Regions from separate parts of the Homo sapiens genome. Here all the other regions are linked to region 1. The links are contacts of gene promoters, found by promoter capture Hi-C in blood cells and fetal thymus (Javierre and others, 2016). All regions are on one chromosome and are shown on one strand. Each heading gives the region's core, a stretch centred on a gene start or on the middle of the fragment in contact. The rest is flanking DNA. Distances are from core to core; before and after follow the strand shown.

The links. Contacts are between HindIII fragments. The CHiCAGO score rates a contact against its expected background, and 5 or more counts as called.
Region 2: a fragment that was not itself captured here is called in contact with the fragment with the promoter of PAPOLA in region 1 in 6 of 17 cell types (total CD4 T cells, naive CD8 T cells, naive CD4 T cells and 3 more); the score reaches 12.7 in total CD4 T cells.
Region 3: a contact is called between a fragment that was not itself captured here and the fragment with the promoter of PAPOLA in region 1, in 1 of 17 cell types (naive CD4 T cells). The highest score is 6.6, in naive CD4 T cells.
Region 4: a fragment that was not itself captured here is called in contact with the fragment with the promoter of PAPOLA in region 1 in 1 of 17 cell types (naive CD8 T cells); the score reaches 6.6 in naive CD8 T cells.

The regions. Positions count from the first base shown.
Region 1 is chr14:96,500,267-96,504,199 of GRCh38, reverse strand. PAPOLA (poly(A) polymerase alpha) reads right to left here and starts at 1,818. Exons shown (of 22, transcript NM_032632.5): 1 at 1,600-1,818. The coding sequence starts at 1,607. PAPOLA-DT (PAPOLA divergent transcript) reads left to right here and starts at 1,874. Exons shown (of 1, transcript NR_122121.1): 1 at 1,874-2,552. RefSeq lists enhancers at 1-170, 1,326-1,921, 1,745-2,004, 1,922-2,516, 2,517-3,113 and silencers at 1,505-1,624, 2,063-2,406. The HindIII fragment of the contact is 10,690 bases long and covers 1-3,933 here.
Region 2 is chr14:99,426,714-99,430,646 of GRCh38, reverse strand. All of the region lies in intron 6 of SETD3 (SET domain containing 3, actin N3(tau)-histidine methyltransferase), which reads left to right. Among named protein-coding and RNA genes, the nearest start is that of SETD3, 52 kb to the left of the region's middle. The HindIII fragment of the contact is 2,703 bases long and covers 285-2,987 here.
Region 3 is chr14:99,401,138-99,405,070 of GRCh38, reverse strand. SETD3 (SET domain containing 3, actin N3(tau)-histidine methyltransferase) reads left to right here. Exons shown (of 13, transcript NM_032233.3): 11 at 761-846. Among named protein-coding and RNA genes, the nearest start is that of SETD3, 78 kb to the left of the region's middle. The HindIII fragment of the contact is 2,808 bases long and covers 533-3,340 here.
Region 4 is chr14:99,278,642-99,282,574 of GRCh38, reverse strand. It overlaps LOC105370660 (a long non-coding RNA gene), which reads left to right. Exons shown (of 3, transcript XR_001750881.2): 3 at 838-2,564. Among named protein-coding and RNA genes, the nearest start is that of BCL11B, 8.4 kb to the right of the region's middle. The HindIII fragment of the contact is 8,266 bases long and covers 1-3,933 here.

The sequences.
Region 1 (3,933 bases), core at 569-3,068:
AGAAAAAGAAGTCCCTTTTCAAAGACAGCAAAATGTTAACTTAATAACGCAGTCATCACGACATCACTGCAAACATTTATCTCCTATTGAACTGAGAAACACCACAACAATCTTGCTTAGACTCAGTTCTCCTAGGGTCTCTTATTCTATGAAAGGGAAAAATCAATAAACAGAAACCATGCAGATTCCAAGATTTTAGACCTGTATAGTTAGTTAAGTCTAACAAACGTTTTCATCACAGAAGTAATGTGATAGACTTCTTAATAACCTAAGGGGGTGGGTGGGAGCCATGGAAAATCCTTTTAAAATACATAAATTGCGATAGAAGTCATTAAGGTCTGTGCCAAAGTTAGAGTCTCACCTGTAAAGAAACACATTCACACACATATATAATTGTAAAACTACAATCGGTGATTATGTGCTAAAGAAATTATCCTTACTTACAAAAAAAAAATAGACCTGAGTTACTACATTCGATGTCTAGAAACCACAAAAATCTTTATCCTGAATTTAACCAAAACTTTGAGTGTCAATTACATGTTGCGTTTTGAGGCTACTAAGATGAAGAAAACTCGGTCCCTGGTCTCAAAGAGGCACTCTTACGCTTCAATATTCAAAAATGGAAGAAATGCAGTCTCACTATTTAGGCCTCTACAATGCTGTATATTTGCAGGAAAAAAAAAATCCGTAATCTACTGGCAATGAGCTGCCAAATTATATCTCATTATCAGAAAGGGGGAGGGGAGAAAAAAACTTTTTAAAAACCCACCAAGAAAAGAAAAAGGCGCAGTGGCATTAGAAAGCATAAAGAGACTAGCTTCAAGCCTTACAACCAGGAAAAAAAAAGTATCACCAGAGATAGAGAAAGAAGGAAACAGAATGAAACCTGGTTACCCCATCAAAACAAAACAGGGAAAGCAATACATAAGTCGTTTTGGAGGAGGGCACCCTGTGAAGTGCCCCCTTCTCCGACCGCCTGTGAATGCTAGGGAGGCGGAGGTGGAGGCAGGCGGACTCAACGCTCAAAGCTGGGCTTTTAACTCGTGCTCCTACATTCAGACAAGGTCAGTGGAAAGGGGCTAACTCCGGCGCACAAGACAGGCATCTGGAAATGGGAGGAAGAGAGTGAGCAAACTGAGACAGACCAGGAACAGAAAAGCAACATCGAATGGGCCCGAGGGGCGCCGAGAGCGAGCCCGAACCCCAAGTGCTGATCCCGCGTGCAGCAGGGTCGTGGTTCCCCACCACCAGGCAATGTTTTGTTTTCGGGTTGTTTTGATTTTCTTTGTGGACGGGGCGGAGAAGCTGGAGTGGCCGGGCGAGTTAGAGGTTCCGCCAGCAATTCCGGAAGGGGAAGGCCCCCGGCCCGACGGCAGCTGACCCAGCCAGGAAGGGTCGGGGGACGCGGGAACCCAGCACACGGGGGGAAGTGCGGCGGCGAGCGAGCGAGGAAACAGGAAGGTCCCCAGTCCTGCCTGCCTCCTACCAGCGGGGAGGGTCGGGCTCGCGTGCCACCCTCTCCGCCTACCTCTTCCCCTTCCCGGACGCCCCCCAAGGCCCAGCCGGCGAGCGAAAGAAAACAGAATACAAATTACTTACAACGGCATCGTCTCCGGCGCCGGCACCGCCCAGTCACTTCCCCCCCGCAACCGCCGCCGCTGCCGCCCTGGGCATGATCCACTGAGGCGGGAGGGAGGGGGGGGCCTGCCTCAGCCCTGGGTCCAACCCCTCTCCCGCACCGCTCCCGCCGCTTTAAGCGCTTCTCCTCCTTCCCCTTCGTCCTAACATGGCGCCCGAGCGCTACCACAGCAACGTTCTAGAACTGCTGACGCCACCACGCACGCCGTGCGTGCGCCTGCGCACCAGCGCCGTCCGCCGCGAAGCCTCACGGGAAGCGGAGTTCCTAAGGCCGCCTGCGGCCCGGCAATTACCCCCTGGGTCCTCTCACACTTAGCAGTGGGTGTCAGATGGTGGAAGGGAACGCTCAGGGAGGCCCCGGGCGGTGAGTTGTCCCTCGGGCGGGGACGCCCTCGTGGGCAGTGCGGCGTGGACGGCGCAAGGAAGAACCCGGAGAGATCCCAAGCCACGAGGCACCGCTTCCGGCGCATTGTGAGGTCCCACCTTTCCCGCCGCCTGAGGTCGCGGCGGCTGCTCTTTCCCGGAGCAGCGTCCCTGGAGGCGCTGCCAGGGGGTGAGGCACCCACGCGTGCACCGTATGTACCCCCCAGCGCGGCGCTTAGAACGACTCGCATGAGTCGCTGCCTTGGGTTGGAACCGGTTACTCCGCCGCTTCGTACTGGACTGCAAAGTAACAAGTACTTCGCCGGGCAGCGGTGCCGACCCCGTGTGCTACGGCGAGAGGTGCTTAGCCTAGAGCCGACGAAAACATGTCCCCAGGACTCCCTTTCCCTCCCAGACTGCGTCCCACCAGATGGAGCTTTCCGTCTGTTTTAACCACCAGTGTATTCCTGATGCCTGACCCAGGCGCTGAAATATTTGTTGAACGAATAAATGTGTAGGTTAGGACTGACGACAGTCCGCGAATTCTGGAACACGGGCTGATTTTACTTTTGAACAAATGATGCACTGGAACTTCCTGACAGAGCTGACCTTTTATAGGAACATCAATGGCAGTCACCGCTGGCATTTTAGCAAAGGTTGTCTTGGTCATAATTTCCCCTTGACTGTGTTTCCAGCCCTTAATCTATATCGGGTGGGACCTGGAAGTCTACCTTCTCGCCACCCCTCGGCAAAAGTTTGAGAAAGTGTTTGAGGCAGAGCCTCCTCTCTCATATGCCCTCCATCTGCGAATTAGAACGAATTATAAGTTCTACGGTGTCACATAGGGGGTTAGCGGAGAGGAAGAGGGAAAGAATCAAATACAGGACGCTGCCTTAACCAAAGTTCTAAACTCTAAATGTAATAATGTGCATTTGTGAGTCCTCAGGAAGTTTCACAAAGGCTTTCCCTTTTTTCACAGAATGTCTAGTAGGACTGGTGACTCCGAATGGGAAAAACACAGGACCTAGACCTGCCCTGTCCATTAGTGTAGCCCCTTGGCCACTTAGGGCCACTGAGCACTTGAAATGAGGCTAGTTCGTTTAGGAGGCACTGGAAGTGCAAAATACGCACGGGTGTCAGTTCGACGAATGTGAAATACCTCACTGATCACTTTTTATATTGATTGCACGTTGAAATATTTTGGATATATTGCAGTAAAGAAAATGTAAGCCGGGCACGGTGTCTCACACCTGTGATCCAGCACTTTAGGAGGCTGAGGTGGGAGGATCGCTTGGGCAGGAGTTAGAGACCAGCCTGGGCAATATAGGGAAACCCCCGTCTATACAAAAAGTTAAAAAAAAAAAAAAAAAAAGAAAAAAGAAAAAAAAATTAGCTGGGCATGGTAGTTCCTGCCTGTGGTCCCAGTTACTCCGGAGACTGAGGTAGGAGGATCCCTGGAGTGGGAGGTGGAGGCTGCCGTGAGTCGTCATCTCACTACTGCACTCCAGCCTGCGTTGACAGAACGAGATCCTGTCTCAAAAAAAAAAAAAAGAAAATATACTATTAAAATTAATTTTACCTGTTTTTTTAAATGTGACCACTAGAAAATTTTAAGTTATATATGTGGCCTTCATTTCCATTAAATAGTGCTGATCTGCAAACAGACTTATATTTGATTGTCATTTCTTCCATTTAGTCTCTTTTCCTCTTGTCATCAAGGTGGCTTTGGCTGGAGACCCAGTAGCATAGTTGTCCCTAAAAGACTGAAAATCTGAGATCCAGATAATTCAATAATGTATTAAGGCTATGGACTTCAAAGCAGCTTGTAAAGATATGCCCTGGGGCCTGGCACAGTGGCTCACTCACACCTGTAATCCCAGCACTTTGGGAGGCAGAGGATTCCTTGAGCTCGGGAGTTCTAGGCCACCCTGG
Region 2 (3,933 bases), core at 387-2,886, 2.9 Mb before region 1:
AGAGCAAACTCCCTTCCTGGCTACAGTTCCTAGCCTAATGTTTGGCACTTGATAAATGTCTGTTGAATAAATGTTCGTTGTTTGCAGGTCAGGTCAAAAGGTGTATTAAATACCCTGAGGAACAAGTAATTAATATAGCTGGAGTCTTTGGTGCTGGTGTCAGAAACCTTTGACTTTTTTCCCTATTTTAAAAACATGAAATTATTTTTGAATTTTAAGTCATATATACATGGAATAGAAAACACTAGAAAATATAAACTAGCATCAGGTAGAAAATTAAAGCTTCACATATTCTGTTTGACAGGGTTTCAGTGACCCAGAACCTCAAGTGGGCAGATCTGGATGGGCCAGAAACCTCAGTGTGAAATTCAGCTTCTCCCAGACTTCACTCCCATTGTGCATGTGTGTGTGCATATCTGTGCACCCAGGGCAGGGAGGGCTTTATTCAGAGAGCAGAGATCTTTCTTTACTCTTCTCCTCCTCAGTGGGAGCCAGTGCTAAACTTGGTTCCTGGATTCAACTCGAGTGAGCATAAGTCACCTGGGAAACTTACTGAAAACGCTGTTTCCTGGGCTTCCCTCTCTGGGCCCATCAGGCCCATCTTGAGCCATCAAGGCTGGGCTCACTCCCCCTCCCCTCTCGTTTAATGGCTGGGGGTAGTGACTGCTTGTCTTTGGACCCACTCCAGAATATCTTACCATTTCCTCTATACTTCACAGTTTTCATCTGTTTCAAAGAATGAAAACAGGTGTGTGGAATTGAGGAGACCAAAATAAATCCTTAAGCATATAAGGTAGGCCTTATGGAGGCCTTAAAATTACTTGATTTTCATAAGTAACTTTGGGACTTAAAAAGATTCAGATGGGTTTCTATATTGGATTTGCTTCTGTTCAAGACTCCTGGTGTTGAGGCACCTCTTCCTCACGTTTTAACTAGCCAGTGTCTGTCTGGAGTACAGAGCACATGTTTCAAAGAACTTGGATATATCCAAAACCCATAAATTTAGGACTGAAATAGGATGTTAGTTATCAGATGACTGAGTGAATGCTGAACATATATGGAAACAAAAGAGACAAGAAATGGTATAACCATATTAATGACAATCATGAAACAGACCAAATGCCTCGCACCCTAAGCAAAGTCTCTTACATCCCGTTTAAGAGAATCGGGGTGCTCTGTTTATGTTTAGATTTCTTGGCTTCTTTCCATTCCATCTCAGAGTTTCCCCTGCGTCTCACCAGTGCTCCTTTTCTTCACTTTTCTTTTCTTGTCCAGCCTGTGCCCTTGGTGGTGTGATGCCTCCTGTGTCTGTGTTCTGTCACTTACTTGCCCTCCCTTGTGTCTTTCTTTTTTCTTCATCCTTTTAAATCCTCTTCTTTTTTTCCTGCAAATATGTTTGGTTCCTGTGAACAGAACAGTTCAGTGCAGAAGGGCACTAACATTTACTGGGTTCCTGGATCATGGAGTGGAGATCCCATGGAGCAGAGGCACAGGCAGCACCCAGGGAGCATGCAGTGAGTGAGAAATGACTCCTGGAGACACCGTATTATGGCAGATTCCAGCCCATCTTGACTAATAGTCATATGTTTGTGTGAATTTTTTTGAGAAGTACACCCAGAAGTTCATAATTAAAATTTTTTTTTCTTTGCTGCTTAGAGGCTTAAAACACACATTTATTATCTCACAGTTTGTGTGGGTCAGAAAGGCAGGCATGGCTTAGTTGGGCTGTCTGCTGCAGGGTCTCTCTCAAAGCTGCAGTTAGGGTGTGGTCTCATCTGAAGGTGTGACTGGGGAAGGGTGCCTTCCATGCCCACTCCTGTGATTGGCAGCAGGCTTCAGTTCATCAGTGCCTGGGTTTCTTGCTGGCAGTTGCTAGAGGCCACCCTCAGTTCCTTGCCACATCAGGCCCATAGATTTTATCAGATTCTCAAACTTCACCTACCCCCTCCCCACATTTTCTCACTTCCTCCATCACTTGTTTTGTTTTTCTTTCTTTTTTCTTGAGACGGGGACTTACTCTGTCACCCAGGCTGAGTGCAGTGGCATGATCTCGGCTTACTGCAAACTCCACCTCCTTGGCTCAAACAATCCTCCCACCTCAGCTTTCCGAGTTGGTGGGACTACAGGTGTGTGCCACCACACCTAGCTAATGTTTGTATTTTTTGGTAGTGATGGAGTTTTGCCCTGCTGCCCAGGCTGATCTCGAATTCCTCACCTCAAGTGATCTGCCCTCCTGGGCCTCCCAAAATGCTAGGATTACAGGTGTGAGCCACTGCACCCAACCCCTCCACCACTTGTTTTGATTCATCCTTTGGCAGATTACTTTTCCTAAATGCTGAAGACCAGGGGGTGCTCAGTGTCTACAAAGTCCTTGTTCCTGGATGGATACTAACTTACTGACACCTCTCAAGTGCCAGCAAACTCTGGTAGCAGGGATTGTCTTCATTTTACATGTGAAGTAACAGACCAGATGGGTAGCACTGCTTGGGGCCACATAGCTAATACTCTAATGCTCCTGCCGTGGGCACTGTGCCACCCTCTGCAGGGCCTCATGTGTTGGGACTGCACTGGCATTGCACCTTTTCATCCCTCTGTGTGCCAATCGATTCTGCAAACCCCAGCTGCTCAGCTTCCCTTAACAAGCCCTCCTTTCCCTGCCTCTGCCATTTCCGGTACTCTCTGTCTGGGATGTCTCCCTTCCCACATGGAAAATCCTGCCCATCTTTAGAGACTTAACTCGCATGCCACCTCCTCTGTGAGTCATTGCCAGATCCCCCTCTTCCCGACAGTGACTGCAGCTTCTTTTCTGAATTCCAGCACGTGTCATGTATCCTGGTGTGACACGTCACAGTTTGCCTGTCTGGGCTCCCTGCTCCAAAGTCGTTGGCTCCTTAAAAGCAGGGAACTCATCTTGCTCATTGTCCCCCCACAATGCCTTGCACGCAGCAGACACACAGTGCAGGTTTGGGGAGTTGACGGACGAAGCTTTGCTGGGAAGCTTTAAGATGAGATTAAAGTGGCTCTGAAGCTGCAGAAATGTGCATTAGTACATCAAGGATAAAATTATACCACTTTATGCCTTGGCCTCCTTTATCGTTTTCTATAAAATAATAGCTATTTTACTTTGATAACTTTTGAGATTAAGCAAAATCTTTCTTGAAAGTTTAACACCTGTTCCTTTTCCTACTTTTTTGCAGATATAGTTCATCCTACAGTTTTCACACTTACTCACAAGAGTAGCACAGTAAATATTACATTTATTTCATTATGTCCTGTTTTTTAAAACATGGGCATATATTTTAAGCAGTTAAAGGCTAAAAGATGTGGTTATTTTGGTTATCCTTATGATGGGGTAACGTATTTTCACTGAAAGTCAGTGGGCATCTTCCAGTCAAATGGAGAAGTTGTCTGTTTCGTAATACAAAGGTATGTTTTCCTTGTCAGCATCATGTGCACCATTAAGTTTCTGTGAATAATTTGAAGTACCTAGCTTTATTTTTCGAGCTAAAAGGTTAATTTGCAAAATGACCACACTTGGGAAAGTTAGCAGCCTCGTCATAGGAACATGACAGGAGGCGCTCCGGATGCTCCCCAGCTGCCCCCCACGCTCTCTTGCCTGCCAAGTAAAACCCTGACATCACCGCCTGCTTCTCCCTGCGTCCCCACCTGAGTTACTGATTGCAGCATGTGGGGCATGCAGTGTGGGGGAGGCAGAAGGTGGGGAGTAGGTAAATATGAAAGGCAAGGCCTCTGCCCTCGTTGGCCGAGCGAGGTGTAAGTGGACACTTTGGAGGCTGGGATGATCCTGAACCTAGGAACTGAACCTGGGAACTTGCTTTTCTGAGCTTGGCAGGCCGTTCTGGTGTGAATTTAAATATGCTCCCCCCTGGGAGAGGACACCTTAAAAAATAAAGGGCAAATTTTAAAGGGAAT
Region 3 (3,933 bases), core at 687-3,186, 2.9 Mb before region 1:
AATTTAAGCCATGGCGACGCTTGGTGGCTTACCAGCGTTTTCAGGTAAACATAATTGTGTCGTTGGGCGCATTCACAGTCAGTTCTGGGGGATATGGCCTGAAATCCTCATTAAGTTAAATAACTACTTTCGTATCATTCATGTCTTTCACCTTGAAAAGGTTAATGGCCTGGATCAATTTGTTTCATTTAATTCGTTGCTACCATTAGTTTCTGTAATGAAGTCATGATCCTCAGTGATTTCAAGAATTTCTAGTTAAGTTCTTTAAGATTTTCTTGCATTTGAGGCATAAAATGATAAAGAAGACAGGAATTAGGATTCATTAGTTCTCCAGGGAATAGAGGAACCATTCTTAATGAAAATGGATTATGCAGACCTTTTTTTTATTGAACTTGTCAATATTTGATTAATGATTAAAGTGTGAACTCAACATAAATTATTGTTAACACTTTTTAAAAACCATGTGTATGTTTAATTTTTGAATGTATTATGTGCAACCTGAGATTACAGCTGTTAGGCTCTAGGAAAAGCTTGTGAGGATGGTCTCCAATTCTGGATGTCCGCTTGCCTCCGCCCCAGCCTGCGGCCTTTTGCAGGGGCTGAAAATCGTGCTCACAGTTGAGATGAGGAGCTGGAATGACCCATTCCAGCTCAGCTCTCCTTGAGGACAACCACACGTGCTGTAGACTTAAGGAATCTCAGTTTGGAGCAAGTGGGTAACCGCAGCAGGGTGACTGATCTTGCTTTCTGCTTTTATCAGTTCCAGTGTTTTTGCATTGCATTTTACCGAGCCGCCCATCTCTGCTCAGCTTTTGGCTTTTCTCCGAGTATTCTGTATGACTGAAGGTAAGTCATTTCAGGAAAAAAGAGATGTTGACTTTTTTCTTTTTAAATCATGAAAGTGTAAAGCATAGGGATTCAGATTAAAGGTAAAGTGGATTAAAACTACAGTACTTTTGGGAAGAGAGAAGATACAATACTGGAGAAAGAAGAAATAGATTTGTTTTACCCTAGAAATGTTTTATTAAATCCTCGATGTGTTGTCAGTATTAATTTGTAATACGCAAATAATTCTCAACTGCATTTGAAGAAAACTTAAAACATCTTGGATAGGGTAAATATATCAAAATTCTACATTTGTAGCCTGACAGAGCCTCATTTCACTCACGGGGCACTAGTCTTTTTCACTTACATAGAGCAGTTCAGGATCAGTTGATGCTGTGATGTTGTGTAGTCAGCTGTGGCATACGTGGACCGTAGGACTTTATTTGTTAACCTACTCTGCATTCTAAATCTGAAATTGCCAGCAAGCATTTTAATGCCAAGCATCCTGTTAGAGTAAATAACATTGCAAACAGAATCTGTGTAGAACACAAAATGTTCCTGGCTACAGCCTCTTATTTCATGCCCAGAAAGAGTTAAGTATTTGTATTGAGCATCTACTTTTATATTAGCTTAAAACAAGTCATTTGGGGTTTCTTATGCTGAGATTTGACCTCTCGTGGTTGTGTTTTTATTTTTCATCCTAAAATGTATCTTACAAATTTCCTGGCCCTGAGGTTTCATTTTTAAGAGAGAGAAAGAGAGAGAGAGAGAGAGAGAGAGAGAGAGAGAGTGTGTGTGTGTGTGTGTGTGTGTGTATGTTTTGCTGTTGTTAACTACCTTAAATCCTGTACAGAACAGTCTGAGTAGGAATGAGTAAATGAGTGTTTGAGTGAGTGAACAGACGAACAAGTGTTCTGGAAGGAAGCTGCCCAAGCACTTCCTTGGTCGGAGGAAGCAGTCATGGCCCATGTGGGGGAAGCTGCTGTGCTCGGCGGTCACTGGCTTTGGTTTTAATGTCTGGATCCAGGGAGCAGTGCAGCACAAGTCCAGGGTTTGACGTCATGCTGGAGGCAGAAAAAACCTAGTCCCGAAACAGGAGAGGCAGTTCACACACCAACCGCAGAACCCAAACTGAGATACAGTCATTGTTCCTCATAAGCAACCCTGTCGCTAGATTTACGGTTATTCAAGTGGGAGCTTTTGGTGCTTTTTGTACTTGGGTAATGGTTCATCAATTCAATGTAATGAACACGAGTTAAGGGGTTAACTGTGAGCTTTTCTTGCATATATATGGATACAGAATTGAATGTTGCAGTTCATGTACTCAAGGCATTTATAATTAAGAGAGGTGATGGTGATGATATTCCTTGAATTTGTGAAGCATTCACTGTGCGCCAGGCATGATGCTACATTTGGTACATGCTCAGTTTTAATCCCATCAGCCTTGATTGGGAAGTGCTCCCATTTTACTGATGTAGATTCCACTTCAAAGAGGGTAAGTATTAGCTGGGCGTGGTAGCACGTGCCTCTAGTCCCAGCTACTCGGGAGGCTGAGGTAGGAGGATTGTTTGAGCCTGGGAGGTGAAGGCTACAGTAAGCCAACCCCAGCCTGGGTGACAGAGTGAGACCCAGGTGGGTGGGGAGTGGGGGAAGAGTATAAAGTTGGCTGGATGCTGTGGCTCATGCCTGTAATCCCAGCACTTTGGGAAGTTGGAGGATTGATTGAGCCTGGGAGGTTGAGGCTGCAGTGAGCCGTGATCTTGCTACTGCACCCTAGCCTGGCCAACAGAGCAAGACCCTGTCTAAAACAAACAAACAAACGAACAAACTAACAAAAAACCCAAAGAGGATAAGTAACTTGGCCGAGGTTGCTCAGTAAGCAAGTGATGACCCTGACTTAGAACCCACCTCTGTTAACTCCAGAGCCCACGTGCAGGACATCCCACATTGCTCCTGCTGGTTCACAGATAACATAGTACATGGAAAAAAGTCTTAGTGCTCTAGGGGTCTGGAGGAAATGGCATTCAAGTTAAACTGTGGAGCTCAGCGACTGTTTGGACAAGGTAGAGCAGGAGGGGAGGGGTATGACTGAAGACCTTTAGCATAGGGAGGAGCTTGAGCAGGAGCTAGGGAGAGAGGGTGGAGGGCACTGGGCTCTGTACCCTCCGGGGTGAGCACACACTGTGGTGGCCAGAATGAGGTGCAGGGATAATTTGCAGGCCCTGTTTGCTGGAGGAAAGCTCAGGAGGGCACCTGCTGCAGGAGCTCCTGGCCTGCAGGCAGGCCACATGCTACATTGTCTTACTCCCCTTTTTGTAGGCTTTATTTCTCCAGAAATGTGAAATGAGTCCAGTTTCACTTTTAAAAAGTAGCGGAGAGAAAGCTCTGCCGCACACCTGCAGCTTCCATCATTGCAGAGTGCAACTTGGGCAGATTGAGGAAGGAGATGAGGGAAGGAAACAGTAACCTTCATACTGGGGGCCTTTGAAAAGAACTTTCAGCCACTAAGAAAGCTTAAAAAAACAGAACGTCCATGTTGTATGCAAAGAATATAAAATGACTCAAAACTAAAAATCCTGAATTTTATCATGATCTTTACTAACAAATAAAAGTTAATAAACTTTTTTGAACATTAGATAGCTTGTTTTCTTAAAACTGCTTGAATCCTTTTAGGTCTGTTGATTCTCTTTAGTTCCTCTCTAGTCATAGACAATTTGTCATGTCAAGACAATTGCTGTATCTTTGAATTACTCTAACTAATACTAATAAAAGTTTGGTTTGCTGGCAGCCGCAGTTCTTCAGTTTGAATCGTAAATAGTGACAGCTGTGGGGCATTTTGCTCTGAAAGAGACACTGTCTCCTAATCACATAAGAAGCATGGGTCTGTTTCTTCAGCATGAATAGGATCGGCTTGTTTTGGTTTTGGAGATAATGTGCCGGGAGATAAAATGCTAAGAGCAGTTGCTGAATTCTTTCCTCTTCTTAAATATATTTGGAGATAATTGAGATGTTCACTTGTGTGTATTTGTAATTCCTATTTAAATTCCTGACAAGTGAGAGAGATGGGCATATTTTTCATTAACTGAGAATTTTTTTTTTTTTTTTTTG
Region 4 (3,933 bases), core at 651-3,150, 2.8 Mb before region 1:
GAAACTCAGTCCCCATTGTGGTGGTATTCAGAGGTAGGGCCTCTGGGGAGATGACTGAGTCATGGAGGCTCTGCCCCATGAGTGGATTAGGAGAGAAAGGGCTGGAGGGAACTAGCTTAGGCCTGTTTGCTCCTCTGCCATGTGAAGCTGTCGTGTTTGTCCACCCTGGAGGATGTGGCAACAAGGCACCATCTTGGCAGCAAAGGCTGGGGCCCTCACCAGACACTGAACCTTCTGACGCCTTCATCTTGGACTTGCCAACCTCCAGAAATGTGAGAAATCAACGTCTATTCTTTTTTTTTTTTTTTTTTTTTTTTTGAGATGGAGTCTCACTCTGTCACCCAGGCTGGAGTAAAATGGCGTGATCTCGGCTCACTGTAACCTCCGCCTCCCAAGCTCAAGCGATTCTCCTGTTTCAGCATCCTGAGTAGCTGGGATTACAGGCACCTACCATCATGCCTGGCTAATTTTTGTATTTTTGTAGAGATGGGGTTTCACCATGTTGGCCAGGCTGGTCTTGAACTCCTGACCTCAGGTGATCTGCCCGCCTTGGCCTCCCAAAGTGCTGGGATTACAGGCATGAGCCACTGCGCCCGGCAATATCTATTCTGTATACATTACGCGGTCTCAGGTATTTTGTTACAGCAGCGCTGAGACAAGATGCTTCATCAATATTAGTCGATTATGTACCAGTGAAATCTGGGGGAAATTTCCCATTTCATTCCTGAAATATTGACGTGTGTACCTTAGACTGAGTTGAATGTGAATCTCTTGTTTCATGAGTAAAACGCCTCCATAATAATATCTATCATTTATTCAATGCCTCCTCTGTGCCAGGCCTGTGCTGGGGGCTTTCTGAGAGGTCATCTGATGAGATGCTCACAGAGGCGTTGATAGAGGAGGACCTGGGATGTCGAGAAGAGAAACCGCATGAAGGCTTTTGCAGCTAGCAGCGGGCGCAGCGGAGACTTGACCCTGGCGATCTCGGAGGCGTATATCAAGCTGTGTGTGCCCTGTCCTGCTTTTCTCACAGGCTGCTGGGAGGACAAACTCAAGTCAGGGAAGCAAAAGGGCTTTGTACACTAAAACTCTGTCCCAACATGAGTTGTTTGTCTGTTTCAAATTTTACCAGCAGAAACGTCTGTCTTACCCCACTCTCTCCACCCCATTTCTCTCTGCCTCAATTATCTGGTTTCATAACCGTGGTGTGTCTTGTTGGATTTTGCTGTCTCAAACAAACAAACAAACAAACAAAATCTCTTCTACTAACTGAGTATACTGTGTCCTTAATGCAAACTTTGTTTCTCTGTAATTCTCTTCCTTCCTCCATGTCTCGATCCAGCACTGACTTTGTCTTTGCTGTTCTGGTTCCACATCTGGTGATGTTTTCAGCTGCCTGTTATTGGCTTGCAGGATGGCTGGAAATCCAACCTGGGTATAGGACGGCATAGTGGTTATACACAGAGACAGACCTGGGGTGATTTGGGCTCTACCTCGTGGTGGCTGACTTCGGGTTTCCTGTCTAAGGGGGATGAAAGTCTTTCTCTTCTGAGGATTAGATAAGATAAATGCCTCACAATGTAATTAGACAGAGTGTCTCTTTGAATGAGTAGGTCTTGAGGGTCTTGGAAGAATTCTGCAATCTGTGCTCAGGACCCCTGAGCCCTGCTGCTTTGCTCCCATGGCACTTGGGACACATGGCCATGAGTCCATGTGATGGGCTGTACTCTCACTACTATAATTGCTGAACTATGTCATCAACTTTTGTTTTCCCTTGCTCTGTTCTTTGGAGCTGGGGTGGTGTGTCAGATTCAGGCTTGCCTGAACTTGGAACCTCAGTACCACCACCTCACAATATTGCCATCTTTGGGCCCTGTCCCCCATGGTGTGCTTGGCATACAGCAGGCGTCCCATCCGCGTGTGTTGTTGAAGGAACAAATCACAGCCATGCTTATGATGCGACTGCTGCATGGCGAGAGACCGGGCCAGGCGCTTTGCTAAGACCCACTCATCACCGCTTATACAGAGCGGTGAAGCCCATCTGACAGGGAGACCACAGAGCCTGAGAAATGAATGCCCTTTCCCCAGCCGACTCAGCCAAAGCCTGAGCTTCCAGATGGGCACCCTGGCAGCATGTAGCAGGCCAGGGTTTGCAGGGCAGGGGAGCCATTCTACTTCAAGGCAGCAGGCAGCCCTCATGGCTGGTGGGGAGGCTACTGACAGTCACTAGCTGTGACTACTAGCAGGCAGGTTTTAGGGAATGACGCCTCGATTTTTCACTTTGAGGAAACCCTTGATGTGCACCGTGGCAGTGGCAGAGGCTAATCGCGTGGATCTGGGAGCTAATGCAGCTGCTGTAATTCCTGTCACCTTCTCACAGCTCAGTGGGAGCTTCCGATGAATAAATCGTGGCATTCAGGGGCTGCATACATCAGTGGCAGGTGTCACCGTCATAGGTCGGGCAGGGCACTGGTGCTCCACCTTGCCTTGTCTTTAATTAAAGGAGGAAATATGTCAGAACTGACAGGACCACTGACCAGCCTACCAGGTCCTTTCCAGTCGCAGTGAAATCAACCGTTAAAGATGCTCATCTCAAGAGGAGAACGAGTCTCTTATGCTTCTGGGGAGAAATCACCATCTGGCGAGGGTTTCCTGGCCTTTGGGGGTCCCCCTGCTACCTCCTCTGAGCCATCTGGGGCTCCCCTGCATTTGCCCCTTACTTGGGAACTGTAACCCTTAGGGATCAGAGGGAGCATGGGAACAAAACAATTCAATAAAGTCACAATAAAGCATCCAAAGCCCTTCATACTTTTTCACTTTCTTTAACTCAATTTATTTTTCATTTTGTGGACAGAGATTTAGTCTGGGTATTAGTTTATGATTTTTACTGAAGGAATTACTCAACACACACACATATAAAAAGGAAATATTATTTTTATCATTTATTTTGTGCCATGTATACCATAGGAGAAAAAAACGGAGCGAAATCACTTCAGTACCGCTGTGTTTTTCATTACAAAGTTATTACATATAGAAATTACTCCAAATTATCTGAAATGAATGGAAATTATGAGGTTTAAATTCCCCAGGTTACTGCAGGCACAGCTCTGGAAATTTATTTTGTCATCTTGCTGAACATAATTGCTACAACAAAATTTCTTCCATTTTACAACTGCAGCATAACTTATTTATACCGGTGTAGCTGTAATTTTACATCAATAAGTTGCATGGGAAGGAATACACAGGTGGTAATTGAAAACAATAATTTGTACTGAGGTCCAGGTGGAACGGTTGGCTCAGAAAAAGGCTCCAGTTATTATCGGCAACAGCTTTGTGTCACTGCGGCCTCTTCTCATCCCCTTAGCCAACACTGGTCAAACCATCCAAACACCTTCAATCACATCCCTGTGGCTGCTGCAGTGAGAGCTGCAAGTTGTCTGACTTTCCACCATGGCCCATGTATTCCGGTCTGGAAAGTGAGGCCACAGGGTGCTGAAGGTACCCAGGGAGGCCCATGACACCTCTGTGCCAGCTCCTGCCCTTTCCTTCTGCTGCTTTCCAACTTGCCTCTTGGTTGGGTGCATTTAGGTACCCGGAGCTAATTAAGGTGTTTGATAGATTTCAATTGGAGTATGAGTTCTTGCCAGAAACATCAACAATTCGATTCCCCAAGCACAATGCAGAGCGTTAAATCCACTAATGCTTTATACATTACTGTGTTCCTTCCCAGCCGGAATGTGTGGTCTGGGTACAATACCAAACCGGTCCCCAAACAGGCGTCCTCACTCTTCAGTCTCTAATTGTTCCTGTTAAGCAGATACAAATAATGAAACTGCAGATGCCTGTGCTGAATCCCAACAGCTGATGAATCTACCCATTTGAATCCAGAGGTCCAAATACAGATTTAAAATAATTGACCATAAATCTGCCTTA